Linked DNA regions of Homo sapiens: region 2 is linked to region 1. Evidence: promoter capture Hi-C in human tissues and cell types (Jung and others, 2019). All regions are on one chromosome and are shown on one strand. Each heading gives the region's core, a stretch centred on a gene start or on the middle of the fragment in contact. The rest is flanking DNA. Distances are from core to core; before and after follow the strand shown. Region 1 holds the start of DLK2 (delta like non-canonical Notch ligand 2). Region 2 overlaps TJAP1 (tight junction associated protein 1).

Evidence for each region. Contacts are between HindIII fragments. The study calls those that stand out against the background at their distance.
Region 2: a fragment that was not itself captured here is called in contact with the fragment with the promoter of DLK2 in region 1 in 1 of the 25 tissues and cell types used here (neural progenitor cells).

Annotation. Positions count from the first base shown.
Region 1 is chr6:43,452,556-43,457,798 of GRCh38, reverse strand. DLK2 (delta like non-canonical Notch ligand 2) reads left to right here and starts at 2,251. Exons shown (of 6, transcript NM_023932.4): 1 at 2,251-2,404; 2 at 2,919-3,049; 3 at 3,325-3,388; 4 at 4,664-4,794. The coding sequence starts at 2,974. RefSeq lists enhancers at 753-1,594, 3,223-3,272 and silencers at 2,193-2,432, 2,533-2,582, 2,613-2,692. The HindIII fragment of the contact is 12,339 bases long and covers 1-5,243 here.
Region 2 is chr6:43,488,601-43,493,843 of GRCh38, reverse strand. All of the region lies in intron 2 of TJAP1 (tight junction associated protein 1), which reads right to left. Among named protein-coding and RNA genes, the nearest start is that of TJAP1, 14 kb to the right of the region's middle. RefSeq lists enhancers at 3,013-3,607, 3,608-4,201. The HindIII fragment of the contact is 8,583 bases long and covers 1-5,243 here.

The DNA of each region.
Region 1 (5,243 bases), core at 1,002-3,501:
TGTACTGAGCTGAGGTTGCACTACTGCACTCCAGCCTGGGCGACAGAGTGATAATCTCAAGGAAAAACAAACAAACAACAACAAAAAACAAGTTATAGATGTTCATTGTTTAAAAAAAAAAAAAAAGGGGCGGGCGCGGTGGCTCACGCCTGTAATCCCAGCACTTTGGGAGGTCGAGGCGGGCGGATCACGAGGTCAGGAAATCAAGACCATCCTGGCTACCATGGTGAAACCCCGTCTTTACTAAAAATACAAAAAAAAATTAGCCGGGCGGGGTGGTGGGCGCCTGTAGTCCCAGCTACTTGGGACGTTGAGGCAGGAGAATGGCGTGAACCTGGGAGGCGGAGCTTGCAGAGAGCCGAGATAGCGCCACTGCACTCCAGCTTGGGCCACAAAGCGAGACTCCGTCTCAAAAAAAAAAAAAAAAAAAAAAAAAAAAGTGTTAATGCTGAAAAGTATTAATAAGAAAAAAAAAAAAACCTCTATAATTCGATCATCCAGAGAAAAGCACTGCCAATGTCAAAGTACGTTCTTCTTTGTTTCCGGCTTCCCCCCACCGCACTTTACATATTCTTAGCTTTTTTGGACATCTTTAGACGTCAAAAAAAAAAAAAAGTATTTTTAACAGTCACATAGTGTTGATGTGCCATAATTTATTTGCCTACAGTAATTTTTGAATTATAGGTTGTTTGCAATTTTTCACCAAAAAAAAAAATGTGTTTAAACAAAATGAATGGTACAGCCATGTCATTACTCAAATTCAGAGAGCTCTTCAGGGAAGAGGCGATCACAGCTGAGAGGAGGCCAGCTAGGGAGCTGAGTGGGTGTAAGTGTTATATCCAATGGAGACTGCAGGAAAAATGAGCCCTGGGGCTCTGTGCCTGTGGAGGTGGCTGTGTGAAGGTGGGAAGCTGCTCTGCCCCGACTAGCGACTGCTCCTTCCGATGTTTTGAATTTAAAGATGGTGAAATCTCAATCTGAAGGACTAGAGATGGGCGCTAGCGTTCCTGACCTCTGCCCTGTTGTCCTGCACAAACTAGAAATTATGTTCTGGGTCCTTGTCTTTTTTTGGGGGGGGGCGGGGGTCGGAGTTTTGCTCTGTCCCCCAAGCTGGAGTGCAGTGGCGCGATCTTGGCTAACTGCAACGTCTGCCTCCCGGGTTTTCAAGCGATTTTCCTGCCTCAGCCTTCCGAGTAGCTGGGATTACAGGCGCGCACCACCACGCCTGGCTAATTTCTGTATTTTTAATAGAGACGGGTTTCACCATGTTGGCCAGGCTGGTCTCGAACTCCTGACCTCAGGTGATCCGCCCGCCTCAGCCTCCCAAAGTGCTGGAATTATAGGCGTGAGCCCACCGAGCTTGGCTGGGTCCTTGTCTTGAAATGTGTCTCTGAGCCATTAGCCAGAAGGGGGCAAAGAGGCCTGGAGGGCAGCTTTCCCCCACTCCCCCTCCGTTACTCTCTGAATCTGAGCTCCAGGTTTGGGCAGTTGAGGTTTAGCCTGAGGCCAAGGACGAACGTGATGGGGTACAGGAGAAGACTTGGCGGTGGAGGGGGTTTTGTGTGCACATTTACAGAGTCAGGGGCATTCCCAGTCCAGAAAGGATTCTCAGAGGCAGTCACAAAAAGGAATGGGGTGGAAGGGCTGAGACTTGAGGGAGGGAAGGGTGGTGGGGGTAGGGCCGGGGTGTGGTTGGGTGGATCGGGTTGATATTTATATAGGGATAGGTTGATCTTGGAAGGCTGGAGACGGCAACGTGGACAGGAAGAAGCGGAGGGCGAGGAGGAGCAGAGGAGCACACAGATGAAGCAGGTGATGAAGGCTTTACAAGCGGGGAGGCGTGGGCTGGTGACAGGCGGAGGGCGGGGAGCGATTGCCTGCGTGTGCATAGATCTATATGAGAAGCGTGATGAGCGGCGGACAAGCGAAGGCAGGGCTGGGGCGTGGGCCGCGGAGCGCTGGTCGGGAAAGTGGGCATGGGAGATGAGAGAATAACGGGGTTGCGCTCCTTTGGCTTAATAGTTTGCTCCCATTGAGACTCCTAAGATTTCCTCCTCTCTTGGAAGGAAGCTGGGTTCGGGGCGTTGGGTAGCCGCGGAGGGCCGGGGCCCCGGGGCGCGCCGGGTGCTAGGTGTGCGCCGTGCGTCGCGGGGGGGGGGATGGGGGTGGGGGCGGGCTCCGCCCCTGGCAGGGGGCCTGAGCGCGCGCGAGGAGCAGCCGCTGCCGCCGCTCGGGGTCGCCTGGAGCCCCAGATTCCCGAGCGCTCGGCTCGCATGGCAGCCGCTTCGGCGCCCGGCCCCGCGGCCAGCTAGGGGCGGCCCCGCGCTCCCTCACGGCCCCTCGGCGGCGCCCGTCGGATCCGGCCTCTCTCTGCGCCCCGGGGCGCGCCACCTCCCCGCCGGAGGTGAGGACTGCGGGGACAGGGCGCGGTGGGGATTCCAGGCCCCGCGCCGCCGCCGAACCCAGCGCGGCGGAGATAGAAAGGGGACGTGGGAGAGAGTGGTGGTGGCGGGGGGGGGGGCTGTCGGAGCTGTGGGGCGGAGACTGCTCGCTGCCGGGAACCGTCCTTCCCTCCGGCCCCCGCGTCCCCTCCGTGCTCGAGGCCGCCTCTCGGCGCTGTCCCCATCCCGCGGACCCCTCCGTCCTGACTACGATCCCAACCCCAGCCATTCCCGCGCCTGGCCTCGCTCCGCGATGCCCATCTTTCCCCTCCTTGCAGACCCCGCTCCCGGGTTCCTGTCTTCGCTCTCCTCGCTCTCTTCGCCTGCTCAACCCTTCCCTGCCCCCATCCTCCCGCTACCCCCATCCCCTTCTTCTGTCCCGGCGCCCCTCTCCCTCGTCGGCTCCTGTCACTTGGAACCCGTATCCGTGCCGCTATCTCCGCGTCCGGCCGCCTCCCAACCGGTGCCGTCCCACAGGTGTCCACGCGTCCGGCCGTCCATCCGTCCGTCCCTCCTGGGGCCGGCGCTGACCATGCCCAGCGGCTGCCGCTGCCTGCATCTCGTGTGCCTGTTGTGCATTCTGGGGGCTCCCGGTCAGCCTGTCCGAGGTGAGCGCGCCCGCTGGGCTCCAGTCGCGGCCCTGTCCAGCCGTCCTCGCTTGCACGTTGACCTCTGCCGGCCGGAGGCGGCACTGCAGTCGCTCCGACCCGCGGGGCAAGCAAGACCGAGGTTGCCTTTTTGGAATGGGATGAGTTTCTGTGTTATGTCCTGCCCTAGGGTTGAGTCCGCTCAGTTACTGGAACCCCAATCCTCTCCTGAGTCCCGCATCCCAGCGAGCTGTGCCCTGACTCAGACTCACCCCTCCCACATCAATCTCTTGCAGCCGATGACTGCAGCTCCCACTGTGACCTGGCCCACGGCTGCTGTGCACCTGACGGCTCCTGCAGGTACCTGTCCTGAGCACGTGCCCCCAAACCCTTTGGTACCCATTTCTAAGCCCTTCACGTGCACAACAGTGTCTAGGGGCTTCAGACTCTACTCTTCATGCCTCATCACTCCTATGGCTGACTGGCCAGTCCCCCTTTCCCCTTTACCTCACCTCTCTTGCTTCTTCTAGTTTTTATCTCCCCACTTCTTTAATCTCCCAAGTCTGATCCAGGGATTGTCTGAACTCCTGACAGGGAGAGAGACCTAAAGCTTGAGAGAGCTTGGGGATTGGGTGCCATGAGGAAATGGAAAGATAAAGGAAAAAGGGAAAGAGAAATGGTTTAGCCTGGAAAAGAAATGCTGCAGGGAGAGTTGCTGGGGAGAAACACTTACAATGAAAGAGGATCTTTCTTGATGAGTTTGAGTAGTTGACTCACTGGGAGATTGGGCAAATTCTGTAGCAGGAGGAAAGTGGACATAAGGAAATGAGTTGATGAGGCAGGTAGTTCAATTGGCTGGGGGTCTTTGAGACTCTTCACCCCTGGAGGGCTTTTAAAATATGGGTCAAGTGTTTGCCCTGGAATCATGGTGGGAGGATAGTCCTGATGACCTTTTTTGTTTTTATTTTTATTTTTTGTTTTTGAGACAGAGTCTCGCTTTGTTGCCAAGGCTGGAGTGCAGTGGCGCGATCTCAGCTCACTGCAGCCTCTGCCTCTTGTGTTCAAGTTCCCCTGCCTCAGCCTCCTCAATAATGGATTACAGATGCACACCACCATGCCCGGGTAATTTTTTGTATTTTTTGTAGAGACGGGGTTTCACCCAGTTGGCCAGGCTGGTCTTGAACTCCTGACCTCAAGTGATCCACCTGCCTCGACCTCCCAAAGTGCTGGGATTACAGGCGTGAGCAACCACGCCCCGGCCCTGATGGCCTTTCAAGGTCATTCTTCTTTAAATGTTTGTGAGCACCTCAGACATGCCAGGAGGGGTACTGGAGGCATTTACAGACATCTTATTTCTTCCTCTACTCAACCCTGCAAGGTGTATCCCCAATTTACAGGTGAGAAAACTGAGGCTCAGGTTAAAGTACAGAACCAGGGTTTGAGTGCTGGTGTCTGATGGTCTGATTCCGTATATGTGTCCTATGACCCTGCACAGTCCTACACCTACCTGGGACAGGTCTGCTTTCCCTTAGGGGCTGTCATATGTCCTCTTGGTTTCTAGAAGCTCTGGTTCTGTCTCCTCCATTTCTTCACATCCATGACCCAGAGCCCTGACCCTGTGCTTCTCCCCGTCAGGTGTGACCCGGGCTGGGAGGGGCTGCACTGTGAGCGCTGTGTGAGGATGCCTGGCTGCCAGCACGGTACCTGCCACCAGCCATGGCAGTGCATCTGCCACAGTGGCTGGGCAGGCAAGTTCTGTGACAAAGGTAGGGGGGAGGAAGGGTAGCTTTTGGTTGGGAACCCCATGTTCTTAGGGGAACAGCCATCAGTATTTATTGAGTGCCTATTTTGTCCTTGTCAAACCCTCAAATACATGGTATTTTATCATTTTTTTAAATCTTAGACTTTTTATATGTTGTCTGAATTGATCCTCAACATAACCCCATGGGGCAGGAAACACAGCTGCTAAAAATTGTACTCATTTTACAGATGAGGAAACTAAGGCCCACAGAAGAGCTATAACCTGCTCAAAGTCAGGTTTTTTTGTTTGTTTTGTTTTGAGATGGAGTCTCACTCTGTCACCCAGGCTGGAGTGCAGTGGTGCGATCTCGGCTCACTGTAACCTCCGCCTCCTGGGTTCAAGTGATTCTCGTGCCTCAGCCTCCCCAGTAGCTGGAATTACAGGCACCCGCCACTTCAGCTAATTTTTGTATTT
Region 2 (5,243 bases), core at 1,859-4,358, 35 kb before region 1:
CCACCGTGGTGGAAGATTGCTGTTGCTAGAGACAGAGTGGTATGAGAGAGAAATCTCTTCAGAATCCTGCTGCTCCCCAATATACTATCTTACCGTTCCCAGCAAGCACCCATAGGAGCAACAGCAAAAAGTTTCCAGCCCAAGAGCCAAAGATGCCGTCCCACTTCCCTTCTGCCATCCTTTCCGGGGTTCTGCCTAAAGCTCAGGCAAAGTCAGAGATGCAGAAGAGGAAAGGAGGTTCAAGCATCCATCCTTCTCCCAGCTGAGGCTGAGGCCATCCCTTCAACACCAGCCCAGGAGAGGGAGACAGGAATCCAGACTGGATATGGTTCTTTGGCTTTTCCAACTTCAGCCTTCCCCACCAAACATCTCCAGCTCCCCACGTTCTGCACTACTACCTCACTCCACAACTCTCCTGATCCTGGAGCAGCTAGCTTGCCCTAGAGAGCAACTACCTCCCTACTCTCCACATCACCAATACCTACTTCAGGTAATTGTGGCCCCATCAGTTTATCTGGGTTCAGATAATTTCTGAACCTACTACGAAGCCTTTCTGCTCTCAGCTGTCAATGAATCAAGCAAGTGAGAGACCTTAAGGAGTCAATGAACACAACCTTCTGAATCAGGAAGGGCCCACACATTACCATGAAAATCATCCAAGCTCTTCTTCATAATTCAACCAAGCAAAGTCAAACGGAAGTTAGTAATCGCTACTGCTTTTAAAATGAAAGGAACACCCAGCCGTTTCAGAATACACCAGCTGTGTTGTATGCCACCTTAATTCCCTTGGAACCCAGCAGGGTATAAATAAATAATAATAAATACAAGCCCTTCCTAAAGCCCCTCATCAACCACTAAAACACAAATGTCTGATCACACAGGGACTGGGGCCTCCCCCTCAGGAACTGTCCTGAGCTGTAAGTGCTGGATGTGGAGTCTCTGAAGTCTGCAAGCCTGTGGGAAGCTGTGCCCCAGTGGGGGTCAGCTACACTCCCGCCACACAAGTCTGGCCGCTTCTCAAGCCTCTGAAATCCAGTCTCTGCCCCCAACTGATGTCTAAGGAACACAAATGGTCACCCTGCAAGCGTAAGCCCTGGAACCAGGTGACCTGGCCTTGGTCCTGGGGATTGCTCATGAAGATCCCCACTCCTTGCACCATTAATACAGCCCCTCTCCCACTGACTCCCCATGAATAGCAGTCCCCCAGAGCAGTGGGCTGATCCCACCAAAACTGGGTTCGGCCTCGCCCACATCGTCTCCGGGGTACCCCTCCTGCTTGCCACCAGCCCCCAGTTTCCGGCATGCAGCTGTTCCTGAGATACATGAGTAAAGCCTTCAGCAATCCCGGGCGCGTGGCAGGCAGGCAGCCAACAGCTCATAGGGTGGGGACTGGGCAGAGGTTCTGCTCTGGGCTGAAGACAAGGCTAGAAGATGTCAGTCTGTGCCCAGACCAGCCCTGCTGCCCCTCCAACAGCTATGCCCGCCACCCCTCTGGGCAAGTACAACCTCACCCTCTTGGGACAAGTTGCCTGCAGCCCTGACCTGGCCCCCTGCCTACTCTAAACCAAACAGATTGACAGGGTTTTGAAAGCCAAAAAGAGTGGGAATTATTCTGCCCCAAAGCAATCCTGAGGACTCAGAACAGTGCTGGTGACCTGTGAGAGCTCATCTGGCTCCCACATGAGCAAACACTTCCAAGTCTATCCACCTGGCCTCACATCCAGACAAACACTTCACAGGAACAAGGGGCTAAAGAGCCAGGCAAACCAACCCCTCCCTGCAAAAAAAGAGGGCAAGAAATCCCCAAGGTCATAGCCTGCATTTGACATTAGACCCCATGCCCTCTCCTAAGAAAGGCCAAAGTGAAGGACCGGCCCTCAACCAGGCCTCAACTCCAGGCCCTTTTGCTTTCCTGGTCAGAGCCAAGTCAAGAAAGCCTCCAGCTTGTTAACTCCCCATTTGGGGTCCCTAAACATCTCTGCATTACTGCTAGTCCCCATGAATAATATATAGTACTATAAATGTTTATTTGTACATAGTACACTCATATATAATACATTATAAGCTCAATCCACATGCATATAAATAGGTATTGTTTATTCCTTAATCAACTATCATACATTCACTATTATTAATCATATAATAAAATTCATTTCCACATGGATATTGATCAGTACTATAAATCCTTAATATTGCATAGTACATATATTCATTTATTGGACGTAGTGCATTTTCATCAAGATATTTCTCATCGGGCCAGGCACAGTGGCTCATACCTGTAATCCCAACACTTTGGGAGGCCAAGGCGGGCAGATCACCTGAGGTCGGGAGTTCGAGACCAGCCTGACTAACATGGAGAAACCCCGTCTCTACTAAAAATACAAAATGAGCCGGGCGTGGTGGCGCATGCCTGTAATCCCAGCTACTCGGGAGGCTGAGGTAAGAGAATCGCTTAAACCTGGGAGGCGGAGGTTGCAGAAAGCCGAGATCGTGCCATTGCACTCCAGCCTGGGCAACAAGAGCGAAACTCTGTCTCAAAAAAAACCCAAAAAAACAAACAGATATTTCTGGTCAACATGGATATCCCCCACCAACTTTGGTCTCTTAATCTATCAACCTCCGAGAAATCATCATCCCGCTCAGGAGTGCTATCCTCCTCGCTCCGGGCCCATAACACACCCTCTCCCATTTACAAGCTCCCACCCAGTGCTGGTAGGCTGCTGCCTTCTCTCACCCAGCCCAAGGGGAACAGAATCCACTTAGGCAGCCTTCTGTTCTCAAGCTCCCCCTGTCCAGCCTCCCTAGCACCACACTGCCTCCGGAAGCCGAAGCCACAGTCTATCTAGAGTGACCTGTGTGGAACACCAGGAAACAACAGGCAATCAACTTTCTCATGATCTCCAGACCCGCCTCTCCTTCCCAAGCCTGGAGGGAGAAGGGACTGCGTGGGAGCTTCTCCAAGCCAGGCTGCACGCACCCATCTCCCAGTCTGAGGCCAGGACTTTTTCTGAGCCCAGTGTGGAATCCGAAGCCAGGTCCTGCCCCCACTCTACTGAGGCACCCTTCCCAGCTTTTCATGGCTAAAGTCCACCAGAAACTCCGGATGTGAAAAGAGGTGGGGGGGACAAACTTCACCTCCCAGAGCAACGGTCACCAATGGGAGTGACATCTCACATGGGTCCCTGGTTTGGGGCCCCAGCATTCAGTTTAAGTAGCTTCACTTTTCTGCCCAGGGAATTCCCCAGAACCAGGTCAAGGTTTTCCTCTACCTCCCCAATCCTAAAGAGAACCTTGCAGCTGATCCTAACTTCTTATCCTAGGGTGAGAGTAACAGGGACACTATCCAACCTTCCCTTCTTGATAAAGGGAGGAAATGATCTGATCTAGGAGAAAAGTCCCTTCCCACTCTAGTTCATCTGTCTCTGAGGCATGAGAAGCAGCAGCAGCATGGTAATTGAGGGATCTTCTCAAACTCTGTGCTAAAAGCACAGATTCAACAGAAACTCGAACCAATTCTGTATGAAGGGAGAAGTGAAGAGCACGCTGCTGACTCGGGGAAGGGTGACGGTGGGGGGTGGTCAGTGGAGCCCAGCAGCAGGCTGGTGATGGGCAGGTGGCCGTGAAGGGGGCACATCCCCACCCACAGCAAAGGGAGACTGGGAAAATAGAGGGACGCAGTAGTAAGAACAAGAGAGCAGAGGAGATGGCGTGATATAAGCTAAGGAGGGAGGCAGCCAGGCTGCGGGGAAGGATGGAGGACAGAGGCCCTGCTGGTGGCACCCCAGGGCAGGTTAGCTGGCTGAGGTCAGACTCACAGGGTTAGTGTCTTCTCCCCAACCAGCCAGCTCTCCTGGTTAGTGCAGTTAGCGACAGACTCATGGCAGATGCCCTCCAGGCACTCCATATAAACAGACAGCTTGGTTTGTGAGCAGCCCAACTCCGGAGCTGCAGAGAGAAAGCAGAGGAATGGCAAGCTGCAGGATGCCCAAGGGGACACACTGCACACTGCACTCTCCTGATGGGAAGCATCGCAGACTTACCACCAGACCCTCAGGGGCTTTCTCCCATCCGGAAACCATGCCAGATGGAAGCCAAGCACTCCCCCTGCCAACCAGGGAGGCCAGCTTGCTGACCTCAGGCAAAAAGCCTCTCTGGTTGGTCAACAGAAAGAGAGGACGGCTGTTGGAGAAGGGGCTCAGCTCCTCTATCTCGCCTGTTCCCCAAACACTGCTGCCAGGCTGCACCAGGACTCTGAAAGCTAGGCTGTAAGAACAAAGCCACCCACAGCTGCAGCTGCAACCCATCCCGCACCAGTGCCAGCAGAGTCCATCCCACCACCTCCCACAGGCTCTGAGGGGCTGGGAGAGAAGCAGCCCAAGGATTAGAGGCTATGACAAGGGCTGCGTCGGAAAGCACAGTACAATGGGGCAGTGTGTGCCTGGCCTACAGCTGGGCCAGTCAACAGCACGGGCTGCACACTGCCGCCTGGCCAGGGGTGGCACTTCCCAGGGAACCAGCCCCAGAGGAGCAACAGGGACTATTCTCCCCTCTCAGAACAAGCAACACGAGCAACAGAGCAAGAAGCTCTCCCATCAACGGCAGAAACAACTCTTCCATGAAGCCTCCAGACCACCCTGGGGGAAGTGACACCTCTAGCTCACAGACTGCAAGGCAAATGAGGCAAAAGCAGTGGCATTCCAGAGACCCCACAAGATGTGTCCCCTGGGGCGGGAGGACAGGACTGCAACACATATATCCACACCCACTGATGCTTAGCAGAGGGTAAGATGTTGGCAGGGAAAAGACAAGAGAGGGGTCCTCTCTCCTGTTCTAGGAAGCCCTGCAGGCTCTCTGATGACTCAGGGCAAAAAGGGAAGAGTCACCACCCTGGCCACAGAGGTGGGCCTGGCCTTTTCCCAAGCCTAGGATCAAGATTCACGCAGACAGGAAACACTTCCAATAATTGCCTACACACTGGGCTCCCCATGTTGCTCTGACTACAGCCCAAGAGCTCAAATAGGCCAAGGCCTGACTATGAAGATGAGACAACTGTCTAGAAAAAAAAGACAACAACTCTTCCGACAGGCCCTGACCCCTGCTCTAGACTGAGCACAGCCACTGACAGGTGACCTTCAGAATCCTCACCCACAAGAAAACAAAAACACCAACTGGGTCTGGTGTGCTTTTAAAAGAGCAGCAAGTGACATGGCTAATTCAAGGTTTCAGAAATCAGGGACTCTCAC